Regions from separate parts of the Homo sapiens genome. Here regions 1, 3, 4, 5 and 6 are each linked to region 2. The links are contacts of gene promoters, found by promoter capture Hi-C in blood cells and fetal thymus (Javierre and others, 2016). All regions are on one chromosome and are shown on one strand. The core of a region is centred on a gene start or on the middle of the fragment in contact, and the rest is flanking DNA. Distances in the headings are between cores, read along the strand shown.

Region 1 (3,856 bases), core at 1,226-3,725, 300 kb after region 2:
ATCCACCTGCCTCAACCTCCCCAAAGTGCTGGGATTACAGGCATGAGCCACCGCACTTAGCCAGCTAATTTCTTAAAAAGCAAATTATCTGAAAGTTTAAGGACATATCAGGCTCATCAGTTGAAATTCCTGTGTCCATTCCTGCCAGTGTGGACATACCACGCTGGAATGCCATTATCCTTCAATCTTTGTTCAACAAATACCTCCAGCCCTGGTGAGCTCTCCCTTGTGCAAGCCCCTGGTGCTCTCTGGGTCTTGGATTCTTCATCTATAACAAGAATGGAGTGAACAATTACAGTGACTTAGTTTCCATCCAGCTCCAGACTTGGATCAGGGCCTCCTACTGTGTGCTCAGCACTGTGCCAGGGTATAAAAGAAGGCACCGTGATCCCCCCGACTTCAAGGAGCTTGAGGATGAGTTGGGGAGACATGTCATAATCAATGGTGACACAGGGTGGCCTATGTAACACGCAGGTGAAGAAAACAGCCACCGGAGCTCAGAGGGCAGAAATTTGCTGTGGACCGGAAAGGACTTTAGCTGAGCCTTTACAAGCAGATAGGCTTTGACTAAGGAGAGAGGAAGGCAAAATTACATGCACTTTGGAGGCCTATTCAGCACCCTTCAAACTAAGCTCCGGCAACGTTCTTGGGCTTCATTTCCATCCCTGAAGCAGCAGAGGATGAATGGAACAAACCTTTCCAACAGAACCAGGGACTATCTGGTCCCATTCTACTGGTGCCATTATTTGTTGCATTGGGTTTCTTGTAGGTATTTTCAGTTGTTGACCGCAGGGAGCAGGGTGTGGACAGCTCTGAGTGTGTTAGCTAGAATATCAGAGCCTTGCTGAACTTGCTCATTTTCTGCCCATCCCAGCTGTCCAAGCACTAGAGGCAGCCCCCTGGGTCCACCCCACCCCACCCTTCAGGCAGGCAAGATGAAAGGACGGTGGCTCACATTGTGTAGTCTAGTCCCCCAGGAGGTGCCTCTGATGCCAAGTATTCCTGTGGCTAACAAGCCCTGGTTGCAGGGGTGGTGGGCAGGGTGGCACAGGGAGGTAGGGGGTAGCCCTCTCTCTCCTCCTCAGCTTCCTAAAAGCCATCTGTTCCAGAACCCAAGCATTGCTTCCCGCTACACCCAAACCACCGCTACACCCAAACCCGTGGGACTGGTTATCCCCAGCACACACAGCTCTCTGTTGCTGCTTGTGTTTGTTAGTTGGCATTTGAACAGTTCTCTGTGGTTCAAGTGTGAGGGTGGCCTGGGGCAAAATGAGATTGGCAGAGGTTGGCATGGATACCACACCTCCTTCCCACTCTCTTACCCACGAGCCCAGACCCCTAAACTTCCCCCTATATAACAAACACCACCATCGCCTGGAACTCCCTTCCCCTTCAGGACCCCATTCTTTACTTTTTCAGATGGCTTATTGGAGAAACAACCTCTTCTAAGGCATGAGATGTTGCTAAAGTTCTTTTTCATAGGGGTCCTCTGTGGACAGCACACCCAGGACTCATGAGAGGATAATGGCTGGAAATTACAGGCATGTGGCAGCTTCTGAGGGACAGATGGAAGTAGGTTATCTCCTCTGCTCTTACAGTAAATCTTAAGTTTTTCTATACATTGTCACCTAAGGTATGTAAGATTTTCTTTTCTTTTTCTTTCTTTCTTTCTTTTTTTTCTTCCTTCTTTTTTTTGAGTCAGGATTTCCCTCTGTCGCTTAGGCTGGAGTGCAGTGGTACCATCACAGCTCACTGCAACCTCTGTCTCCCTGGCTCAAGCAATCCTCCCACCTCTGCCTCCAGAGTAGCTGGGACAATAGGAGTGTGCCACCAAGCTTGGCTATATTTTTTTTTAAGAGATGGGCTCTCACTAGGTTGCCCAGGCTGGTCTCAAACTCCTAGGCTCAAGCAATCTGCCCGCCCTGGACTCCTAAAGTGCTGGGATTATAGGCGTTTAGTGCCTGGCCCTCTATTCATTTTCTATTCAGCAGACACTGGGGTGCACTGGCCTAGCAGGGGTGAGAACTGACTTCTTAATCAACTCAATGACTCATGTGCCATGTCATCTTCCCTTTTGGGAGAACCTCAGTTTTGTTGTGTGATGGGGTTTCATTGAGTTATTGCCACCGGGCTCACAATTTATGAGGCAGTTCTCTATTTTTTAAGAACTACCCATGAAGCTAGGAGACATGAGGTTCCTCCTGACTCACTCTGTTTCTCTGCTATTTGTGGTGGCTATCATGGAGGTAGGGCACTTCACAGTTTGCAGGGTGTCCAGACTGCCCTGACTTGATTCAGTGTTCAACAAATATTTTTGAGTATCTCTGAAGTGCTCGGCATGGTGCAGGTTCTGTGGATACAAGCATGAGTGAAGTAAGTGGTTTGGAAATAATGTGCTACGGAAACGAACAATGTATTCAAAAGGTGCACAATGGCCTGGAGCAGTGACTCAGGCCTGTAATCCCAGCACTTTGGGAGGCCAAGGTGGGCGGATCACCTGAGGTCAGGAGTTTGAGATCAGCTTGGCCAACATGTTGAAATCCCATCTCTACTAAAAATGCAAAAATTAGCTGGGGGTGGTCGGGGGGCGCCTGTAATCCCAGCTACTCGAAAAGCTGAGGTAGGAGAATGACTTAAACCTGGGAGGCAGTGGTTGCAGTGAGCCGAGATGGTGCCACTGCACTCCAGCCTGGACCACAACATGAATGAAACTCCGTCTCAAAAAAAAAAAAAAAAAAGAGAAAAGGGGGGTGCACAAGTTCCTTGCAGATGGAACTTAAGCTATAAGGTGGGAATGAATACAAAGAGCCCAGGGAGGAAGGTAAGATGAGGATTACCACTCCCATTTTACAGAGCAACCTTGGAGACACCGACTGACCATTCTAGACTGACTGGTTAGAGGCTCCCTCCCTGAGAAAGTGGTGTTTTAGGAGAACACTTCCTAACAAGAAGAAGCCAGCTTTGGGAAGAGCTAAAGGCAGCTTGCGCAAAGGCCCTGAGGCAGGAACCAGCTAGGCCACTGGGTACATTTGAAGACCAGAAATAAGGTCAATGTGTCTGGAACTTAGCTACTGCAGGATATGAGATTCAAGAGAAAAATAGGGTTGAATCATGAAAAGCTTTAGGGATTTTGTTTTGAGTGTAACAAAAAGTCATTGGTGGTTTTTGTTTTGTTTTTGTTAATTGTACCTTTTTAAATGATCATGCTAGCTGCTGTAATATTGTCACCAGCACCACTTTGTACCTCTTTTTTTTTTTTTGAGATGGAGTTTTTCTCTTTCACCCAGGCTGGTGGGAAGTGGTGAGATCTCAGCTCACTGCAACCTCCGCCCCCCAGGTTCAAGCAATTCTCCTCCCTCAGGCTCCCGAGTAGCTGGGATTACAAGTGTGTGCCACCACACCCAGCTAATTTTTGTATTTTTAGTAGAGACAGGGTTTCCCCATGTTGGCTGGTCTCAAACTCCTGACGTCAGGTGATCCGCCCACCTCAGCCTCCCAAAGTGCGAGATTACAGGCGTGAGCCCCTGGACCTGGCCCACTTTGTGCCTCTTTGGCACACCATTCACTTTGTAATCAATGTAAATGAAGACCTCCAGAGCTGTGCAAGGTGGAGCAGTCCCTATAGTTCTTCCCAAGCCCTATGTGCTTTCAGGATCTGAGAATCTAGTGTTAAGAGACTTTGGGTTGGGAAGAGTCTTCCCTAGGGGCTTTAATGATGTCAATCCTAAATCTTCTTGGAGAAGCCCAATGGGAGTGCTGGCCCCTCCAGGGTGTCTTTATTGATCTCTGTAAACACTCCCTTCTCCCAAGCTCTTTCATCCGAGAGGCCAAGCCAAGTGGAGGCAGACGCTCACTC
Region 2 (4,014 bases), core at 588-3,087:
TTTAACTTTGGGCCACTCAACCAACTTGAAAACATAGTGCGGTAAGTCATGCAAAGCACCAAACTGGGAGTTGGGAGACATGGGCTCCAACTCTAACTCCTTTCTTTTTGGTCACCTTGGACTGTCATCTTATTCACAGCAGCCAACACTTACAGACACTGTGTCTGGGGTATTTATGCTCAAATCTCCCAGGAGGAGAGAACTATCATTGACAGAGGAGAAACTGGACACAAAGAAGTTCCAGCATTTGCTCTAGCTGGTAAGCAGCTAAGTGGGAATTCGAGTCTGGGTGAGCCAACCCCATCGTTGCCACGCTTACTCAGCCCGTTATTTGGCTTCTCCCCAAGCCACGTGTCTCCCTTTAGCTCTCACTTGCTTTATTCCTTTGATCCTTAAGTTGCTGAAATTGCCATCAAACCTTGTATCAGTTCAGGACACAAGAGACAGGTGGTTCCCTCAAGGCCTCTGACTGAGAAAATGCCTCTACTTAGCAGTGGCTGGCCCCAACTTACAGACAGCACACTCTCAGGGTCACTAATACTTAGCAACTTCCAGGACTAGCCCTGGGGCGACAGCACAGGCAGCAGGGCCAGTCACTGTGTCCATCCCTAAATTGTCCTGCTGGATGGCTGTGGGGAGGGGCTTTGCCTGCCCCTTACAGTCCCTCCCTGCAGTGCACCCCCGAGAAACACATCCTCCGATTTTGTTTCCATGCACCCTCCTTTAGTTCACACTGCCACCTGTTTTGCATGTCAGAAAACTGGAACTTAGAGAAGGAGCAGAGAAACCACTTGAACTCAGGCCTTCTGATTCTCTGTCCAGTGCTCTTTCTACTATCTAGTGGTGCAAAAACTTTCTTCTTAAAGCAGCAGAACCTCTTCACTACCACACCCCACACCTTTTGTTCCTAAGTAAACTAGCAAGTCTGGTTGGGTGGTGGGGTCAGATGTGGGGAAGGGAGCTGCAGCCCTGTAGCTTGGCTTCCCTCTTTTTTTATGTTTTGGAAGCCTTGTGAATAACCCCCACTCCCCACTCCCTGGAAAGTGGAAAAAACTAGAACTTTCCACAAAGTGTGTTTTTTAGAGTCATCTATGCTTCTCAGTTGAAGTAGAGGCCAGGCTTACTGCAGGAAGGAGGCAGGGAGGAGGAAATACTTAGTGGTCAGTGAGGCCACTGTGGTTTTAAGCTCAGGACTCACCTTCTCCTCCAAGTAGTTAGGGATTCTACCTCTATCCCCAATCTTAACATCGCTGGCCAGGAACAAAAATGTGGCTTTAGGGCCAGCACTGAATTCTAGCCCTTATCCTGCCAATGACTCAGTATGTGGTCCAGGGTAATTGAGCCTCAGTTTCCCCACCTGTGCCTTTTGGGATCTGGATCACTATGTCCCTAAGGGCTTTTCTGACAGCCTTTACTTCTGCCTCAGCTTGACTCAGCCCATGACTGCACCTTTTGCAACCTTGGTTTCTCATCTGCACAGTGGGTTGAGGGTCAGACACACCCACCTCAGGGTTTTTGCCAATGCAAGCTTCAGGCTAGAAAGCAGAAATAGGGATGGCAGAAAACAGCACTCACGTTATGCCCTTGGTCTTCTTCAAGCCTGCTGACTCTGAAGGACTTTCATCCAAGAATGTAGAGTCCTTGTTCTCCAACTTCTTGGCACTTTCAGGAGGCGACATAAGGTCCAATTTGATGGCAACGGCTCCCTGGGGACCCTCAGTACTTTTTGTCACAGACATGACTGCTTAAGAAACAAGGAGCTCGGGGTGACAAAGAGGTCTGCTCTGGAAGGAGGGAAGCAGGAAGGTGTCTAGTGTAGATGTACACCCCAGCACAGTGGTGTGTGCCCGGGCTGGCTCTGGCCAAGCTGGAACGAGGCCCCGCCCACCTCCCTGGAGGGCACCTCTTCCTGCCTGGAGAAGCCAGTGGACGAGGACTCCTGGGAAGAGGAGGAGAGGAAGGAGGGATTTGGAAAAGGCATCACCCATTCGTATTGGTATTACTTAATAATAATCATAATGATAACTATTATACTGATAATTTTAATAACAAATATCTATTAAGCCCTGTACTAAGGGATAAGCAATCCTCTAAGTGTTTTATCTACATTTTCTCATTTAACCCTATCAATTAAGTAAGGAGAAAACTGAGGTTTCTTGAAGTAAAGGAATCTGCCCGAGGTCAGATAGCTAGAAAGTGACAGAGTTGGAACCTAGCCCAATTTGTCAAGGTTTTCAACCAGTAACCTATTTCTGTCTCCAAGAAAATACCTACAAATCCCTCTCCTTTTATTCATCTCAGGGTAGAGGTTTCCATGTCTCACTGGCTCCACAGTCTGCTGTAAGACATCCCTTCTTGCAGCACCCCATTCTTAAATTGGAACAAAAAAGGGACAGTCACTCAGTCATCTCTAATTAATTCTTAGCTTTTGTGAGGCTCCATGGAGTGAGTAAAGAGTGTTCTTCTGGAAACGGGGAAGAGGCTGAGATTGTATGACTCCCAGCCACAGTTTGCTGGGCAAGATACTGGCGCCAGGAGGTGGTGAGATTTGTCTAAGGTCACACATGAAATCCAGGATAGAACTCTGCAGCTAAAGATGGTCTTGGGCGTTTCTCTAGTATCCCACTCTCTGTCATTATCTCTGCTTCAGTGCAGATGAACAGGCCAAAATTTCCTCCTCCCTCAAAATTACAGCTTTTGACTCAAGCCATACCACTCTCTCCTCCATCATCTCATCCCCAAAACTAACATTTCTTAAGGGCTTATTACATGCCACAAGCTTTGCTTAGCTAATGTCACTGCTAACTGGTAGCATCCAAGACAGATTTGTCAGGCCCCTCCCTTACATGGGGCTCTTTCCAAGGTCCTGTATGCAATTTTGAATGGACAATTTTGTATTGCTTTTTTCTTAAAGAGGTCCTCCTTACCACTACTTTCCCCTTCTCCATGGGATAAGCTTCAAGCTCCACAAAGCCTGGCTACTTCTGTGGGTTAGCTTTGTTAGTTTGTTTTTACAGATGTGGAAATTGAGGCTCAGAGAGGAAAAGAATAACTTGCTGGAGGTCACAGCTGGAACTCGGTAAATCCGAACTCCCCGCTAGCCAGGTTTTTTTTGGTTGTTGTTGTTTGTTTTTTGTTTTGTTTGTTTGTTTTTTCTGAAGCCTGCAGCTTTGACCACAGCACTGTCTCCTTTGTTTTAATGCTGGCCCCACCCTGCCAGCTTCTTGTCCTGAATCAACTGAAACACTTGCTGTGATTTGAGAAGTGTTATTCCCTTGTCTGGCACCATTACATGGCAGTATTACTGGTCTGTGAAGTAGCAGGCTGCATCCTGTGACCTGCTCGTTTACAGCCTGAGATTCCACAATTTAAATTTGTAATCTCAGATTTGATGTCGCAGGTGGAGCTCTGTGTTCCTGCTCGAGCAAGGTCAGTAATAAGATTGTTGAGGAGCTTGCTATGTTTAGATATGAGCTAGTTCTTGCCTTCCTCTCCAGGTTTTGAGAAGAACTCTGAATTATCTTCAGGCCTTTTGGAAAGGGGTGGCTGGAATATCAGTGTTTGGCCAGAGCTCTTCCCAGGCATCGTCAGTGAAAAAAAAGCTTGTAGGGTGGGGCTCCACACCCCAACTCATTGCACCACATGTTAGCAGGCAGGAGGTCTTCTCCTAGGGTGGGGATGTCCAAAATAAGCCCTTCCAACACGAGTGGCCCAGGCATCCGAAGCCCTGGGTTCCGCTATGGCTCTAACTATGAAGCTGTGGCAACCCTTGGAAAGATATTATTCCCCTTCAAACTCCAGTGTCCCCTTTGCAAGATGGATACTAGATTGTAGATGACTTCCAAAGGCATGAGAACCCCAAGGGCTTGGATGGGGTGTTTGGTAACGCTGAGATGCAGGCCAGCTTTTCTTGGGTGGGGCAGGCAACTGGTGAAAAGACAGCCTGCCCACTAGACATCTCCAAAAAGAGTGGAGCAAATGGGATGTAAATAATGATAATAATCTCCTATGATC
Region 3 (3,836 bases), core at 915-3,414, 270 kb after region 2:
GCCAAATGAGCAAACAGCGTTGTCAAGAGATCACCCTTCTCTGCTTTTTGGCTATTTTCCTTTGCATTTACTTAATTATCAGGTAGTTTCTCCTCACCTGGTGGTCCCTGGGAGCTCTAAGTTCACATTCTCCGAGGCTATTGTTCAGCTGAGAAAAGAGTGAGTCATTTCTCTCTGTCACTCAAGCAAAAGTCCCAGGATGAATATTGATTGTCTGTGATTGGGACACAAGCCCAACCCTGAGCCAATCACAGTGACCACAGGGAACTCATGCTCTGATTGGCAAAGCCAAGTCTCACACCCAACTCTGGAGCATAGGTTGGGTCCGTTGCCCCCAACCACTGGTTAAGCTTAAAGACTAAAGTAGACTGAACCCCTCCTGAAAATCAGGGGCAGAACCAGAGGGAGGGGAAATGGATGCAGAGCACATGTAGAGCTTTGCAGTCTTCAAAGTACATTATTCCACACAGACACCTATGAATTAGGGAAAGCAGGGATTCTGGCCCCATTTTGCAGTGGCAAAACTGTCTCAGAGAGGTGACATGATGTGTCCAGAGTCATTCAGCTCACAGGTAGTCAGAAAGAGTCCCCACGCCTCCAGGATCCTGGTGTTTCCCTGACACCACATCCTGAGATGACTGACAACTGGTCAACTCATGTATTGTCCAGGAGCCATGGAGCCATGTGACAAAGTAGCCTGAGGGACCCCCAAGAGACCACTGGTTCCACACTTTACCTCCATTGTTGTGTTAGAGCTTTATACCCTGTGAAGAGAGCAGGCCCAGAAATTGAGAAAACCTGCATTTGAATCCACCTAACTAGCTGCGAACCCAACAAATGTCTCTTTTCTGGGCCTCAGTTTCCCCACCTGCAAAAGGAGTTAGTTGGGCTCAGTGATACCTAAAGACACTTCTAGCTCCAGCTTGGCCACTGTCTCAGGTTCCAAGATTTCCCCACCCCTTGTGGTAGCTTCAGATTTCTTGCCTGGGGGAAGAGCCAGGGCAAGTTGCTGCAGTTCTGTTCTCTCCACACAGCAGAGTGGCGGCTCCCAGCCCAGAGTGGAGGCTTACCTAACCCCAGCAAGCTGAGCAAATCCCTGAGAACAAAAGGGGGAGAAGACCTGACAAGGGAGGGGAAGGAGTGAGTCTATTCCTTCCTTGCACAGCAACTTTAACCCCTTCCATGCCTCCCCAGCAGCAGGAGGGCAGGCAGGGTTTCCAGACAGGGGGTAATGAATGCATCTCAGGCATGCACGGGCTTCCAGGAACTGCTGTGCCACCAAAGCCAACTTTCCATAGGGGAGCCCTCCCTGGGAGCAGCCACAGCTGGAGATGCCATTTGTCCTTCATAGACCCAGACTCATGGCATCAAAGCCCCCCACCGCTCCACCCCCAACAAAAGCCAGAAGGGAGCTGCATTCCATCCTTCTGCCAGTCAGGAAGCTGAAGCCTAGAAATGGGGAGGAACTTGCCCAAGGTAACATAGCTTTCGACTCACAGGAAGGGGCCTCGACTAGGACAGTGCCAGACACAGAAATGAATAAAGTGTGTTCAATGACCGGAATCAAGGCCTCCCCACCTTGCGCTCCTTCCTCTGTGCATACTATATTGCCTTTTGGGATTCTTAAATCAAAGTTTCCATCCCCAAATTAGAAGCAGATTGTTGAGGCCTGTCCATAAATTCCTCACTTGAACCTGTAGTGACTAATTCTCTCGGGAGTGTGGGATCAAACCCACCATGGCTATTAAGAATTTAATATGAAGCCCCAGTGCCTGGGGCCGTGCTTTCTCATCAGCCCCGAAACAGGGCGAAGCCTGCATGTCAGGCGGGGCCAAGAATGCAAAGTCTGGAGTCCCTTTCCTGAGAAGCTTCCTGGGACAGCAGCCTTCCCTCTGGGGAAATTCTCAGGGGACCTTCTGAACAAGAAGTGTCTTTTTTCCTGCACCAGTCCTAATCATAGACAAAGTGGGAAGCCCCTTGGCAGAGAGAAGTCTGGATAAACACCACCTCCTGGCAATGTACCCTTGCCCCTAACATCTCCCACGTACAACTGACACTCCACCCTTCATGTACAACAGGCTCCCAGTCTCCAAAGGTCTTTGTGAACGCAGCGTGACCCACAGAAAAAGAAGCAGAGGTGGGGGGTGGTGGAGGAGGTTGGGGGAACAGATCCAGTCTATTGGTGAATTTTAAGCAATGAACATATTTTTGACCTGAGAAAGTGGTCAGAGTGCATCAAATTGAGAGCCTGGGCTCCTGCAGCCAGTGAGGGGGCAGAGGCCCAGGAAGAGGGCTCTGGGTGACCCGGGACAGCAGTGGGTGATGGGGCAAAGCTGTCTCACCTACTGGGCTTGGTTACTCATGGGACTGATGGGACTATCAGAGAGCATGTGGCTTGTGAACCCAGGAATGCCTTCTTGAAACAGCCTCCCATCCTTCCTGTGAGATCCCTGAGAGAGATGAAGCTTCAGGGACAATTTAGTGACTGAGTGCCACTCCGCCTGGGATTGTGTTAGGCACTTAATGTGACAAATAAAATACACACGGTTCCTCCCCTCAAGGGCAGTGACAGGTGAGAAATACGGAGGTCATCCTATTATTTCAGATGTGCCTGAATCCCAAAGTTGAGCTCTTTGGCAAACCAGAGCCCCACAGGATCCCCGGGCCGTGTTTGTAATTTACTAGACATGTACCAACTGCATCCCACATATCTGTCCGTCCCTCACAAGTGCATCTCACCCATCAGAGAGTGCTCACAGCTCTACCTCCGAGACACATGCCCTGAATTTCACCACTTCTTTCAGCCCCTCGCCCTACACCCAGTCACCACTTTTTCTTTCCTGGATGACTGTTCTTGTAGTCTCTTCTCCAAGGAGCAGCCAGAGTGATTTGCTCTAAGATAGTAAGTCACTCTCCTGCTAAAACCCTCCATGGACTTCCCATGGCCCTTAGTGGGAAACGCACACTCCCTACCATGGCCCCTGGACAAGACTTTCGCCATCTGTCTCCTGCCCACAGGACGTCCTTCCCCTCCACTTTGCCCCTTATGCACACGCCTTCTTTCCACTACAAGAAGATGACGCACTTGTTTGTTTCCCTGGGTCTCTGAAATTGTTGCTCCTCCTTGGAATGTTTGCTCCCAGCTTCCCATCCTTCAGATTTCAGCTCAAAAGTCACTTCCTCGCAGAGGTCCTCCTTGACAACACTAACCAAACCCCTGCATCACTCATTGCCCATCATATTCCCTTACTTTTATGTGCAGAGCACTTATCAATAACAGAAATCATCTTATTTCTTTGTGTGTATGTTTACTGCCTGTCAGTCTCCTCCCGCCATGCCCCTTGAGGTTCGTGTTTCTCTTTTATTTCCTTACTACTTTCTACTTAGCACCCAGAGCTCAGTGCATAGTAGAGTCTCCAAACATCTTTGTGGCCTCATTCATTGACTAGCACAATGCTCAGACATCAAATATCCATGTGAAAAGAGCATAGAGATTGAATCCATCTACTCACTTGTCAGAGGGGAAAATGGAGATTCCAAGAGGGACTGGGACTTGCCCACAGCCATACAATTCCTTCATTTATTCATATCAGCTGATACATGCAGGATAAGAAGGAGGTATCCGTTTGAAGATATGGGGGGAAGAGCTAGTGCAAAGGGCCTGAGGCACGACCTTTACGGGAAAGCAGGCAGGAGGTGAGTGTAACAGAGCAATCCAAGGAGGAGAGGTGTGAGGGGAGGTGGCCAGGCAGGCAGAAGCCAGGCCATGCATTCGCAACTTGGATTTAGTTCCCTCTAAACCAGGGGTGTGAATTTCTCTGCCCACTTGTGTAAGA
Region 4 (3,585 bases), core at 775-3,274, 390 kb after region 2:
AGGTCCTGGACAGTTCTATTTATTTATTTTTCAGAGATGGTGTCTTGCTCTGTCACACAGGCTGGAGTGCAGTGGTGTGATCATACTTCACTGCAGCCGTGACTTCCTGGGCTCAAGTATTCCTCCTGCCTCAGCCTCCCTAGCAGCTGAGACTATAGGCACCTACCACCATGCCCAGCTAATTTGTCCTGGACAGTTAAGCTATTTGCTCAAGCTCACACATCTGGTAAACAGTCTGTTTATCTGCAGAGCCAGCATTCTTATGCAACATACAGCCTACTTCTAGGCATCCGGGGATTTAGATCCTTGGAGCCCATGATAAACAGACCAATGGGAGGTGACATCCTTATTTTTAGAGGCTTTGATTTTATTGCAAGGCCCTAGTCAGCAGTCATGAGATTTACCTAGGGACATGAAGACTTTCCTTCTCCGAAGAAGCAGATTAGAAAACTTGTCTTCTTAAACTAAGTGGCCACAGCCCTTAAAGACATGGAAATCTAAAAGAAGCTCTGATGGGCACTCCCAAGAAATTACAGACTTGGGTCTTTTAGAGACTGGCACTAATTAAAGGCGAAAGTCATGGAGAGGGCGGTGACCTGAACAACCATTCACCTCCCACATGGCACAATCTTGAGGTTCCATTTTACTTTTCTTAATCTGCCAGGGTTGAAAGAATCTAGATCTGAAATTTTTCAGACTTCAGTTTTCAAACTTCAAGTCGTATAATTGTGACTTTTTGGCCAAACAGAAAGTTTTATTTGTGGAATGTCATTATCAAGAATGAGGCACATGAAGATCTTTAATTCTCACCATGGTCAGAGTACTGTTATGACCTCCATTTTCCAGATAAGGAAACTGAGTTGCACAAAAGAATCAGGAACTTTCCCAAGGTCACACAGTTTTTAAGTGGTGAAGGAATTTAAATCCGGATCTGCTGAAGTCCAGAACGTGGCTTAGTACCACTGGGGCTGTAGGAGGAAGCCCAGTAGATAAAACTGTGAGTTGGGCCAGGCACAGTGGCTCACGTCTGTAATCCCAGCACTTCGGGAGGCCAAGGAGGGATGATCACTTGAACCCAGGAGTTCAAGGCTGCAGTGAGCCGTAATTGCACCACTGCATTCCAGCCTGGGCCAAAGAGCAAGGCCCCATCTCTAAAAAATAAAAACAAATTAAAAGATACAAATAAAATGATGAGTTAAGCTGCCTCGGTTTGGGTTTGGGTGTGTTGGTTTCGAAGAGGCCAGCTCATTGAGACTTCCCCTTGTGCCCTGTAGGGCCCTTGGAAAGCTTGATAGCACCAGAGCAGTTAAAAAAACTGGAAACAAATGTCCTTCAACAGAGGAATGAATCACACCTTCTGGTATATTCATTCAACGGAATACTTACTACTCAGTGATAAAAAGATAACATTTCAAAATAATTATGCTGAATGAAAAAGCTAGACAAAAATGGAGCATACCGTGTGATTGCATCTATATAAAACTCTAGAAAATGCAAACTAATCAATAGTGACAGTAAGCAGATCAGTGCTTACTTGGGGGCAAGGAGAGGGTGGGAGGGATTACCAAGAGGTGCCAGGAAACTTTTTAGGTGATTAATATGGTCACTATCTTGATTGTGGTGATGGTTTCATGAGTGTGTGTGTGTGTGTGTGTGTGTGTTAGATATGTATGTATCTTAATTATACACTTTATTCTTTAGGTAGGAGATAGCAAAAAAAAAGTTTACACTTTAAATATGTGCAGTTTATTGAATGAAATTACACCTCAAAAAAGCAGTTAAAAAAAAACTTCAGCTGGGTGTGGTGGCTCATGCCTGTAATCCCAATACTTTGGGAGGCTGAGGTGGGCAGATCGCTTGATCACATGAGTTTGAGACCAGCCTGGGCAACATGGTGAAACCTCGTCTCTAAATATATATATATATATAAATTAGTTGGGCATGGTGGTGTGTGCCTGTGGTCCCAGCTACTTGGGAGGCTAAGGTGGGAGGATTGCTTGAGCCCGGGAGGCGGAGATTGCAGTGAATGGAGATTGTGCCACTGCATTCCAGCCTGAGTAACAGAGACCCTGTCTCAGAAAAAGAAAAACAACAACAATAACACACACACACACACACACACACACACACACACCCCACTTCAAAATTCAAAAGATTTGCTCAAGCTCACTCAGCACGCTGATGGGGAGCCAGGCCAGGCCAGAGCTCCCCCTGTGGCTCACACCACTGTGAGGAAGGAAGCCTCCCCCACATACAGCCCCCAGGCTTCACCCTGTACTGAGGGCCAGGTGGTTTCTCTCCAGTCATGGTAATGTGGGTACTGGACAAGCCCGGGCTCTGGCCACCAGGCAAATGGGTAGGTCAACAAGGCAAAGTTGGTGGGAGCTTCACCCCATCAAGCCCAGAAACAAGGGCTGGTTACTGGGAACACCCTAGGGTAGGCTGTACTCACAACCAGGAATCTTTGACAAAAATATAAACCTGCTAGAAAGATTAGAAGAGACAATCTCTTCCTTTGTCAAATTATCTGGACCAACACCTACTGAGCATCTACCATGTGTGAGGGTCTGTCCTAGCTCACTATCTTATGCAGTCTAGGTAAGGATGGAATGAGATAAATGCAAGGGCATGACACACTAAATAGGCATCCCCCAAATAGTAGCCATTACTCATCTATCAAATATCCCCTAAGTCCTTGCTCTGTGTGCAGAGGGAACAGATACTTGGGCTGATCCTCGAGGCCAGGAAAGATACGTGGACAGAAAGCTTTGCCACAACACTGAAATTTGTGTGATAAATGCTTTGAGGGCCAAGAGGAGAAATAAATTACTTCCAGCTGTGGAGAGGTTTCATGGAGGCTGTGGTATGCAAGGGAGGGAAAGGAATTTGTATATGGAGACAAGGGAGGCTGGTGGAGGAGATCATTCCGCTTACAGGGGGCAGGCAGCATGAATAAAAGCAAGGCACCTGAGGAGCGGGCTGGCTGGCTGCAGCGAGGAGTGAGAAAGCCTGGAAGGGTGGGCTGGGGCCAAGTGCACAGGGAAGCCTCGGAGAAATACGTGGCCACGTCTGCTCCCCACCCCCACCCCTGCAGAAGCCTGAGCTCCGCTGTGTGATTCATTCATTCCGTGGACAGCCAGCTGGGCTGATGGCAGGCGTGGGAGCTTCCCTAATGCCTCTGTGGCCTTGGAAGAACAGAGCCAAGTGCCTCAGCTAGAAACTTGGATTTCAGCTGGGGGTGGTGGTATAGAGAGAACTCAAAGGAAATGAACCCCTCTGAGAAGCACTCACTCTAAGAGACACCAGTGTCTCAACTCTTGGGCGTTCCCAGTGGGCCAGCCAGACCTCCTAGGGCAACTGAAAATGGAAAAAATCCTCAAGTTTGTTCTCTCAGAGCCCAGAGAAACTTTTTTTTAGAAGAAACTGTCTTAAACGTCTCTGTGGATGGTCAAGTCCAGGAGACACTGCCATCTGGTGGTCAAGAAACACATTTACCTGGTGGGCTGGGAAGGAGTCCCTGCACCCCGGAGGGGCCACGAAGGCAGAAATGGCCCTGAGATTTGTTTAGTACTTTCATAATGGGAT
Region 5 (3,811 bases), core at 757-3,256, 410 kb after region 2:
TCATTTGTTTACTTTTGCACTAGAATGGCAGAGTTGAGTAGTTGTACCAGAGACCCTATGGTTTGTGAAGACTAAAATGTTTACTATCGGTGCCGTGTAAAAAAAAAAGTTTGCTGAGTCTTGCTCTAGGATAACCAGCAGAAAATCAATTCATCTATGGTTTGTACTTATATACTGAGCCAAAGCTTTGAAGGGTTTGCAAGATCAACATAAGAGCTAAATCTACTGATTGTCTATTACATGTCAAATTATCTTTGTACAGTATCTAAGTTAGTCCTCACTGAGCCTGGAAAGAGAGCTATTTATCTTATTTCACTCAGGAGGAAAGTGAAGTTCCCAAGAGTTCACTAGGTAGCTTGCAGTCATGTGGCAAATAACTACTGAGTATGGAATATGAACCTAGGCTTTCTTCGCTCCAGGGAAATCTTGCTGGTTCTGGAAAAGCAAAGTACACCGCCAGCCCTCATAACCCTGACTCTCAGCAGAAGCTCTGAAACTAGAAACACATTTTTAGGGAGCACAGTTTTTTGCTGCCCAAGGACCTAAAGTCAACAGATACCTGAAACTTTCTGTCGCTGACTACAGGGAGTAGGTCCCATCCCCCACAGTATAAAGGTCAGAAGCCAGAAACCAGCTTCTGGGTATAAACATTACAGTTCAGTGCTCTCCTCCTCCACCTCTGAGGGGCAAAAATAAATTTGAGGGTGATGGAAAATCTATTTCATGGACAGAGTAATCACTTCTTTATAGGAGAATCTCAAGATTGGCTCTACCACCAGATGCATAACTGGGTAGTTCTGGTTCCTCATGGCCTCTGGGGTCTTTTATAAAGACTTATAAAATGGGTAGATTTTAAAAGCCAGTAGGTTTAAAGTAGGTTTTTAAAGTCAGTAAGTGGGATGATTCTTTTTTTTTTTTTTTTTTTTTGAGACTGAGTCTCACAGTGTCACCCAGGCTGCAGTGCAGTGGCACGATCTCAGCTCACTGCAACCTCCGCCTCCTGGGTTCAAGCGATTCTCCTGCCTCAGACTCCCGAGTAGCTGGGACTACAGGCGTCCGCCACCATGCCCGGCTAATTTTTTTGTATATTTAGTAGAGACGGGGTTTCACCATGTTGGCCAGGCTGGTCTCAAAGTCCTGACTTTGTGATCTGCCTGCCTTAGCCTCCCAAAGTGCTGGGATTACAGGCATTACCCGCCGCACCTGGCCTATTATTATCCCTTCTTGACAGATGAGGAAACTGAGATTTAGGGGTTAGTTCACACACTCACGGTGATTCGGCTGAGTAGGGCCTGAATTGAACATAGTCAGCCTCTAAAACCTCAATGCTTAACCACTGAGATCTTGTTAAAATGGGATTGAAAGCTGCCTGCCTATAGTTTTCTCTTCTCTTCTCTTCTTTCTTTCTTTCTTTTCTTTCTCTCTCCTTCCTTCCTTTTTTTTTTTTCTTTTGAGACAGGGTTTCACTTTCACTCTGTCACCCAAGCTGGAATGCAGTGGCACGATCACGGCTCACTGCAGCCTCAACCTCCCAGGCTCCAGCAATCCTCCCACTTCAGCCTCCCAAGTAGCTGGGACTATAGGCACGGGCCACCACGTCTGGCTAATTTTTTGTATTTTTTGTAGAGCCAGGGTTTCATCATGTTGCCAAAGTTGGTCTCAAGCTCCTGCATTAAAGTGATCTGCCCGCCTGGGCCTCCCAAAGTGCTGGGATTACAGGCGTGAGCCACCATGCCCGGCCTCACCTGCCTATAGCTCTAGCCCACCTGTCCTACGTCTACACAGGAGCTACCATTTCTTGGGGACTAGATATATCAGTGGCTGTGTGACATATTTTACTGGCATTTTTCCAGTTAATACTAACAACAGTCCTGTGAGGTCAAAGTTTTTGTCCCTATCTTACAGATGAGGAAATCAAGGCAGTGAGATAAAGCAACTTGCCTGAGGTCACCCAGTTGGCAAGCTGGGGCACAGATTTTCAGAGGTTTCTGGGATTCCAAACCCTGTGCTCTCGGGCATTTGTCTGAGAAAACTCTCAGGTAACACACTCTTCCCCTTCCAGTATGTGTATATAGATATATTTTTTTCTTCCCTTTCCAGTTTTGAGGAAATCCCTTGACTAACACCCTCTTTCCTTCAGCTGTTATCTTGTGGTACATGGTGCCAAGTGCCCTCCTCATTCCCATCATCTGCTCCAGAGGGTTTTTTGTCAAAATCCCCAGAAGATACAGAATACAGTGATGATCAAGCTAGCCTTTTCCTCATTGCCACCCCCCACAAAAAATCCTGGTGGCCTTCACTCCCCAAGCCCCAGGGCAATTAATACTGTCTTCTACCATTGCCACAGGCTGACTTGCCCAACTGGTAGGGCTGATTCTATCAGATTCCTTATCCATACTTTGTTGTTGGAGGATTTGTCTCAAGGCACCTGGCAAGACCCACAGGAAATGACACCTGAGATGTCAGTGGCTCTGCCCAGGAGGCCTCAGGCTCACCTGCCAGCTCCCTAAAGACAGGATGCAAAGACACATGGCAACTGTGGGATACCTCTGGGTATCCACCTGGCCCAGAGCCATGAATTAGGCACCCTGAAGAAAATGCTAAACACCACATGACCCTAACCAAGATGCAACTGAGATCAGAGCATCTTCCCAAGCCGGTGTGACTGCTTTTGCCTGGCACCTCCCATGTGGTCAGGCCTGGAGAGATGGGGAGCCTAAGGATAAGGAGCTGAATCCTGGCTCTGCCAACTTCAACACGACCTGGAATAAGTTACTGGGCTTTTTATATTTTTATCTGCCAAAGGCCTCAATTCTTTATATAAAAAACGAGGCCACGAGCAACAATATATGTGATAAGACTGAGTGATCTGCAAAGGCAGGCTAAGACTGACTTCCCAGACACAGCCACTGAGCAACTGGTGACTGTGCGGGGGGGTTCCTGAACCTCTCTGGGGCTCATGGGTTCAGGCTGAGAAAGTGTCTCCATTCAGTGTCGCCCAGAGTTGATCTGAAAAGTAGGCCAGAGTGGGCAGGGAAATTAAGAAAAGCATGAACCTCTGAAAACCTGCCCGGTCCGTGAGGAAATAACCGGGTCCACTCCCTTGTCCAGAGCCTCCCCACCGCCCTCCTTCAGGCCAGCTCCGCGGGCAGGGCAGCCAGGAGGAAGGCTCAGGGACTAGGCGTCTCAGTTCCCGCTGGCCACCAACTCCCCCATCCCCTGCCCCCTCTCTGGTTCTGTTTCTCTGTGTACGCAGGGAAGGTGTGGGCTTGTCGCCCCTGGAGGCCTTCCAGCTCCGACGTTTTGAAGCCTGGCTCCCAGATTAAACTCCCTTCGGATCCCATTTTCTGAAGGGTCGCAAAAGCTGGGGGCTGGGTGGGGTAAGCTAGGGGACAACAGCGGCTCCGGCCGCCGCCTGAGCCCTTCAAGATCAGCATCCGGTCAAGCGGCTGTGCAGCCGAGAAGCAACCCGGGACTGCAAGTCTGCGTGGCGGGGACGGCGCAACCACTCACCGGCATGACTGAGGCAGCGGCGGTGTGGCGGCGGTGTGGCGGCGGTGTCAGCAGCGCCTCTCTGGATTCGGAGGGCGGGTTCGGCTGCGCTTCCGAGAGTGCGCACTAGAGGCCTGGTCCCGGAGGCCCCTCCCACTCCGGGCCCGGCCGCGAGGGAGGCTCCGCCCCCTCCAGTCCTGATCCCTGCCGGCCGCGCCGCCTCCTTTCTGCGGGCCGGGCCCGTGGTCACCCGGCCTGGACGGAGAGAGGAGGTGAGAGGGGCGCTGCGTTGGCCTCCATCGACTGTCGGCCTTTTTCA
Region 6 (3,554 bases), core at 265-2,764, 370 kb after region 2:
TTTCCCCTTCTCGGGAACTGTGCCTTGATTTTCCTCTTGGGCAATACCCTCTCCTACACTCTTAGCCCCACTTAGAAAAAGGGCATGTGACTAGCCTACGCCATGCCATTCCCCAGGGCCACAGTAACTCTTTCAGGGACGGACATGAGATGGGATATAGGACTGCAACAGAGAATCTGGCCTTCTCCTGGGCTTGACTAGGAATGCATGTGAGATCCCAAGTAGCAGGAGCCTCCCTGAGACCACAGGGGAAGGCTGCATGAACATGAAGCCAACAGGAAAGAGAATAGAGTGGAGAGACAGACAGACAGACAGAGAGAAACAGAGACAGCAGAGAAACAGAAAGAGAGAAAGAGAAAGAGACAGAGAAACAGAGAGAAACAGAGCCAGACAGAAAAGGGCAGACAGACAAAGAGAGACAGAGAAAGAGAGACTAAGAGAGAGAGAGAGAGAGAGAGAAAGACAAAGATAGAGACAGAGACACAGAAAGATACTCATGGGACACTGGTCCAAGCCCCTAAGCTAGCCTGGGGCAGACACTGTTATTTGTCTGCTCAACATCCATTCTCCTCTTCTGCCTAATCAACAGACCCTCAATTCTGCTTAGGGAGCTCTGTGTCCATCTCAAAATACTAATCTTTCTAGACTCCTTTGCAGTGCAGAGAGGCCATGGGACATGCTTCTCACCAATGAACTTGTAAGCAGAAATCAGTGCATGGAGCTTCTGGGGAAGCTTGTGAAAGAGGGAGACTTTGCTTTTTGTCCCTCTTCTTCCTTCTTGGATGGCATATGTAAGACAAAGTGGAGCCACAGGAGAATGGAATCCACAAGGAAAGGCTGACAGAAGGAACTGCAGCCTGATGATGGCATGGACCCAGCGTCATCCTCAGATGGCCAGATTGCTTGCAAAGTGGTATAAAAGCTGCTGGAATCAGGTTTCTGTGACACACAGCAGAGTGCAATCCTATGTAATATACAGCCCTGCTCCTGGACTTTTTCTTTCCATAAGCCTTTTTGCTTATACTGGTTTGGGTTGGGTTTTCTATCCCTTTCAACAGAAGAAATCCATTTCTGACTCGGAGGAGACATCCTGTTTACTCAACAGGTAAATGTCTCACATCTATGAGACAAGGTGAACGATAATTGTCCCTTTAAGAGAAAGAAGATGATATTCCTTACGTGTGGCTGCAGGGGAACATTAAAGCAGGAGGTGGAGAGAGAAAAGGAATGTAATGGGGTGAAGAGGAGCCTTACGGAGAGCAGAAAGTTTCTTCTGGCTTCAGAACCGAGCTGATGCAGTGTCTGGGGCTGCTGTCTGGGTCACAAAAATAATTTGGATGACTCTGTGGCCAAACTATGTAGGGGAAGCTCCTCCAACTTTTAGCAAACTGTAGTTGGCCCTTACTCTTTTGAGGCATGTGAAGAACTACATTCTTCAAGGGGCTGGGCCTCTTCAAGACTTTTTCTCTTTCCTGGAGAGGGCCAGGGAGGTGAGTGGGGGAAAGACTAAGCATCAATGTGAGCATGAGAAAATTCTGGAATCAGTAAGATCTCAGTTTTTTTGTTTTTTTGAGACAGAGTCTTGCTCTATCACCCAGGCTGGAATGCAGTGGCACAACCATAGCTCACTATAACTTTGAACTCCTGGGCTTAAGTGATCGTCCCGCCTCAGCCTCCCAAGTAGGTGGGCCTACAGGCACATGTCACCACGCTCAGCTAGTTTTTAAATTTTTTGTAGAGACAGGGTCTCACTATCTTGCCAGGGCTGGTTTTGAACTCCTGGTCACAAGCCATCCTCCTGTCTTGGCCTCCCAAAGTGCTGAGATTACGGGCATGAACCAGTGTCTGGTCAAAATGGAGTTTTTTGTTTTGTTTTTGAGACAGGGGTCTCGTTCTGTTGCCCAGGCTGAAGTGCAGTGGCACGAACATGGCTCACTGCAGCCTCAACCTCCCAGGGTCAAGTGATTCTTCTACCTCAGCACCCCCTAGTGGCTGGGACTATAGGTGTGCACCACCATGCCAGTTAATTTTTAAATTTTTTTAATAGAGCCTGTTGCCCAGGCTGGTCTCTAACTCCTGGGCTCAAGCAATCCTCCTGCCTTGGCCTCCCAAAGTGCTGGGATTATAGGCGTGAACCACTACACCCAGCCTGAAATGGAGTTTTCTATGAATTATTAATTAGATCCCTTTTAATACTCTTAGAGATATAAAAATGAAGATTGTAGCACTTTTAAATGATTTGTAACTGTAACACTTTGTTTTCTTCAATGTGGCTCTTCACAGACTGGGCCATGTGAAGCTTTGGGATTTCCCAGGGTCATGTTCTTTACAGAGGCAGGAGGTCAGCTCTACTGGTTCCCTCACACTGTTTCAACTTCCCTGCCCTCTAAACAGGCTGCACAGCATCCTCCAGCCCCAACTATCCTCTCAGAAGAGTTGTCGGAATAAGGACAAAAACAACACCCTCTGTCTCTAGGTCCTTCTGGAATGTCTTCTAAGATACAAAGTCTCCTCTCAGGCCCGTTAGCTCATCCCACCCTCCCTCCACCTCTGTCTGGATTAAAAGCCTTCTGTGCTGGAGGACAAGGAGAATCCTGAAGAGCCAACTAGCTGAACTGCTAGAGTTGCTCCAGTGATTCTCCAAAGTGCCTCTTATCCTGAGACTTTCCTGTTGTCCAGGAGACCCAATGGATGTTTCCCCCAGCCCCTTTGCCTAGGGAAAAGTAAGTGATAGCAGGCAGGAAGGCCTTGCTGCTGTAGTGCCACTGTGCACAACCTAGAAAGCTGCAGCAAAGAGAGACTTGAAGGTTGCTTGGGCAGCTCCCAGAGATGGCACTGCTTTTCAGGGAAGTTGTGTCTCAGGTAGTGACTATTTGGGCCAGTGCTACGCAGGTGGTAGAAAGAATTTACCAAGACAGTTGTAGGTCAGCAAAGCAGATTTGTTAGAGGAAGTATGAAAGTATGTTGCAAGGGTGCAATGGGTAAGTCAGCAAGAGAGTAGCTGACTGCAAGGAGTCAAAGGCTTGCTGGGGATTTTTTAGGATGGTGCTTGTGCTGTGTGCTGAAGAGGGCTTTGTACAGTACAGATAATGCCAAGGTTGCAGTGAGCTAATGTACATTATTCTATCAGCCGAGGTGTCTGGTGATAGTTGGGCACAGGAAGATTGTGAGTTATTTGCACAGGAGGGCTATGTGTCCTGGACCATGAAGAAAGGCAGATGTATAGCTTATCTACTTTTTCTTTTTTCTTTCCCCTGCTCCCACCAGCCTGACTCCTTTTCCCTAATTAGGACTCCACAGGTTGTGGTCCCCACTACCTAGGGTCATAACCTTTGCAGGTTTTGAAGCTCCGTCTGATCAGTTTGCAGTGTTGGGGGATTGCTGCACAGAGAAAGACAGATGCTCCTGGAAAATACCAACATGTCCCATCCCCCTCATCTGGAGGATGAGCTTTTGCACTAGCAGAAAGTTTGTTTCTACACCTAAAGCCATATTATTCCCTATGCCAAGGTGTTGAATTAGACATCAAGAGGTTGATGAAGGAGTACAGAATT

What was found. The method cuts DNA at HindIII sites, captures the fragments that hold promoters and counts their contacts. A CHiCAGO score of 5 or more calls a contact.
Region 1: a contact is called between a fragment that was not itself captured here and the fragment with the promoter of SLC36A2 in region 2, in 3 of 17 cell types (M1 macrophages, M0 macrophages and M2 macrophages). The highest score is 8.2, in M1 macrophages.
Region 3: a fragment that was not itself captured here is called in contact with the fragment with the promoter of SLC36A2 in region 2 in 3 of 17 cell types (M1 macrophages, M0 macrophages and M2 macrophages); the score reaches 8.3 in M1 macrophages.
Region 4: a fragment that was not itself captured here is called in contact with the fragment with the promoter of SLC36A2 in region 2 in 1 of 17 cell types (M2 macrophages); the score reaches 8.2 in M2 macrophages.
Region 5: a fragment that was not itself captured here is called in contact with the fragment with the promoter of SLC36A2 in region 2 in 1 of 17 cell types (M2 macrophages); the score reaches 5.3 in M2 macrophages.
Region 6: a contact is called between a fragment that was not itself captured here and the fragment with the promoter of SLC36A2 in region 2, in 1 of 17 cell types (M2 macrophages). The highest score is 5.1, in M2 macrophages.

What each region holds. Positions count from the first base shown.
Region 1 is chr5:151,645,357-151,649,212 of GRCh38, forward strand. All of the region lies in intron 1 of LOC105378231 (a long non-coding RNA gene), which reads left to right. Among named protein-coding and RNA genes, the nearest start is that of CLMAT3, 30 kb to the right of the region's middle. The HindIII fragment of the contact is 1,284 bases long and covers 1,834-3,117 here.
Region 2 is chr5:151,345,722-151,349,735 of GRCh38, forward strand. It overlaps SLC36A2 (solute carrier family 36 member 2), which reads right to left and starts at 1,838. Exons shown (of 10, transcript NM_181776.3): 1 at 1,576-1,838. The coding sequence starts at 1,739. It also overlaps a transcript of SLC36A1 not described here. RefSeq lists an enhancer at 1,351-2,264. The HindIII fragment of the contact is 1,251 bases long and covers 1,527-2,777 here.
Region 3 is chr5:151,618,883-151,622,718 of GRCh38, forward strand. No RefSeq gene overlaps it. Among named protein-coding and RNA genes, the nearest start is that of FAT2, 29 kb to the left of the region's middle. RefSeq lists enhancers at 527-1,205, 1,206-1,882. The HindIII fragment of the contact is 597 bases long and covers 1,867-2,463 here.
Region 4 is chr5:151,737,353-151,740,937 of GRCh38, forward strand. No RefSeq gene overlaps it. Among named protein-coding and RNA genes, the nearest start is that of ATOX1-AS1, 14 kb to the right of the region's middle. RefSeq lists silencers at 2,796-3,090, 3,256-3,550, 3,316-3,585 and enhancers at 3,349-3,585, 3,350-3,399. The HindIII fragment of the contact is 1,479 bases long and covers 1,286-2,764 here.
Region 5 is chr5:151,755,033-151,758,843 of GRCh38, forward strand. ATOX1 (antioxidant 1 copper chaperone) reads right to left here and starts at 3,599. Exons shown (of 4, transcript NM_004045.4): 1 at 3,514-3,599. The coding sequence starts at 3,519. ATOX1-AS1 (ATOX1 antisense RNA 1) reads left to right here. Exons shown (of 4, transcript XR_007059008.1): 3 at 1,906-2,039; 4 at 3,257-3,328. RefSeq lists an enhancer at 2,638-2,767 and a silencer at 3,538-3,787. The HindIII fragment of the contact is 3,647 bases long and covers 184-3,811 here.
Region 6 is chr5:151,717,469-151,721,022 of GRCh38, forward strand. No RefSeq gene overlaps it. Among named protein-coding and RNA genes, the nearest start is that of SPARC, 32 kb to the left of the region's middle. RefSeq lists silencers at 606-806, 1,800-2,094, 3,026-3,135 and an enhancer at 3,378-3,554. The HindIII fragment of the contact is 1,566 bases long and covers 732-2,297 here.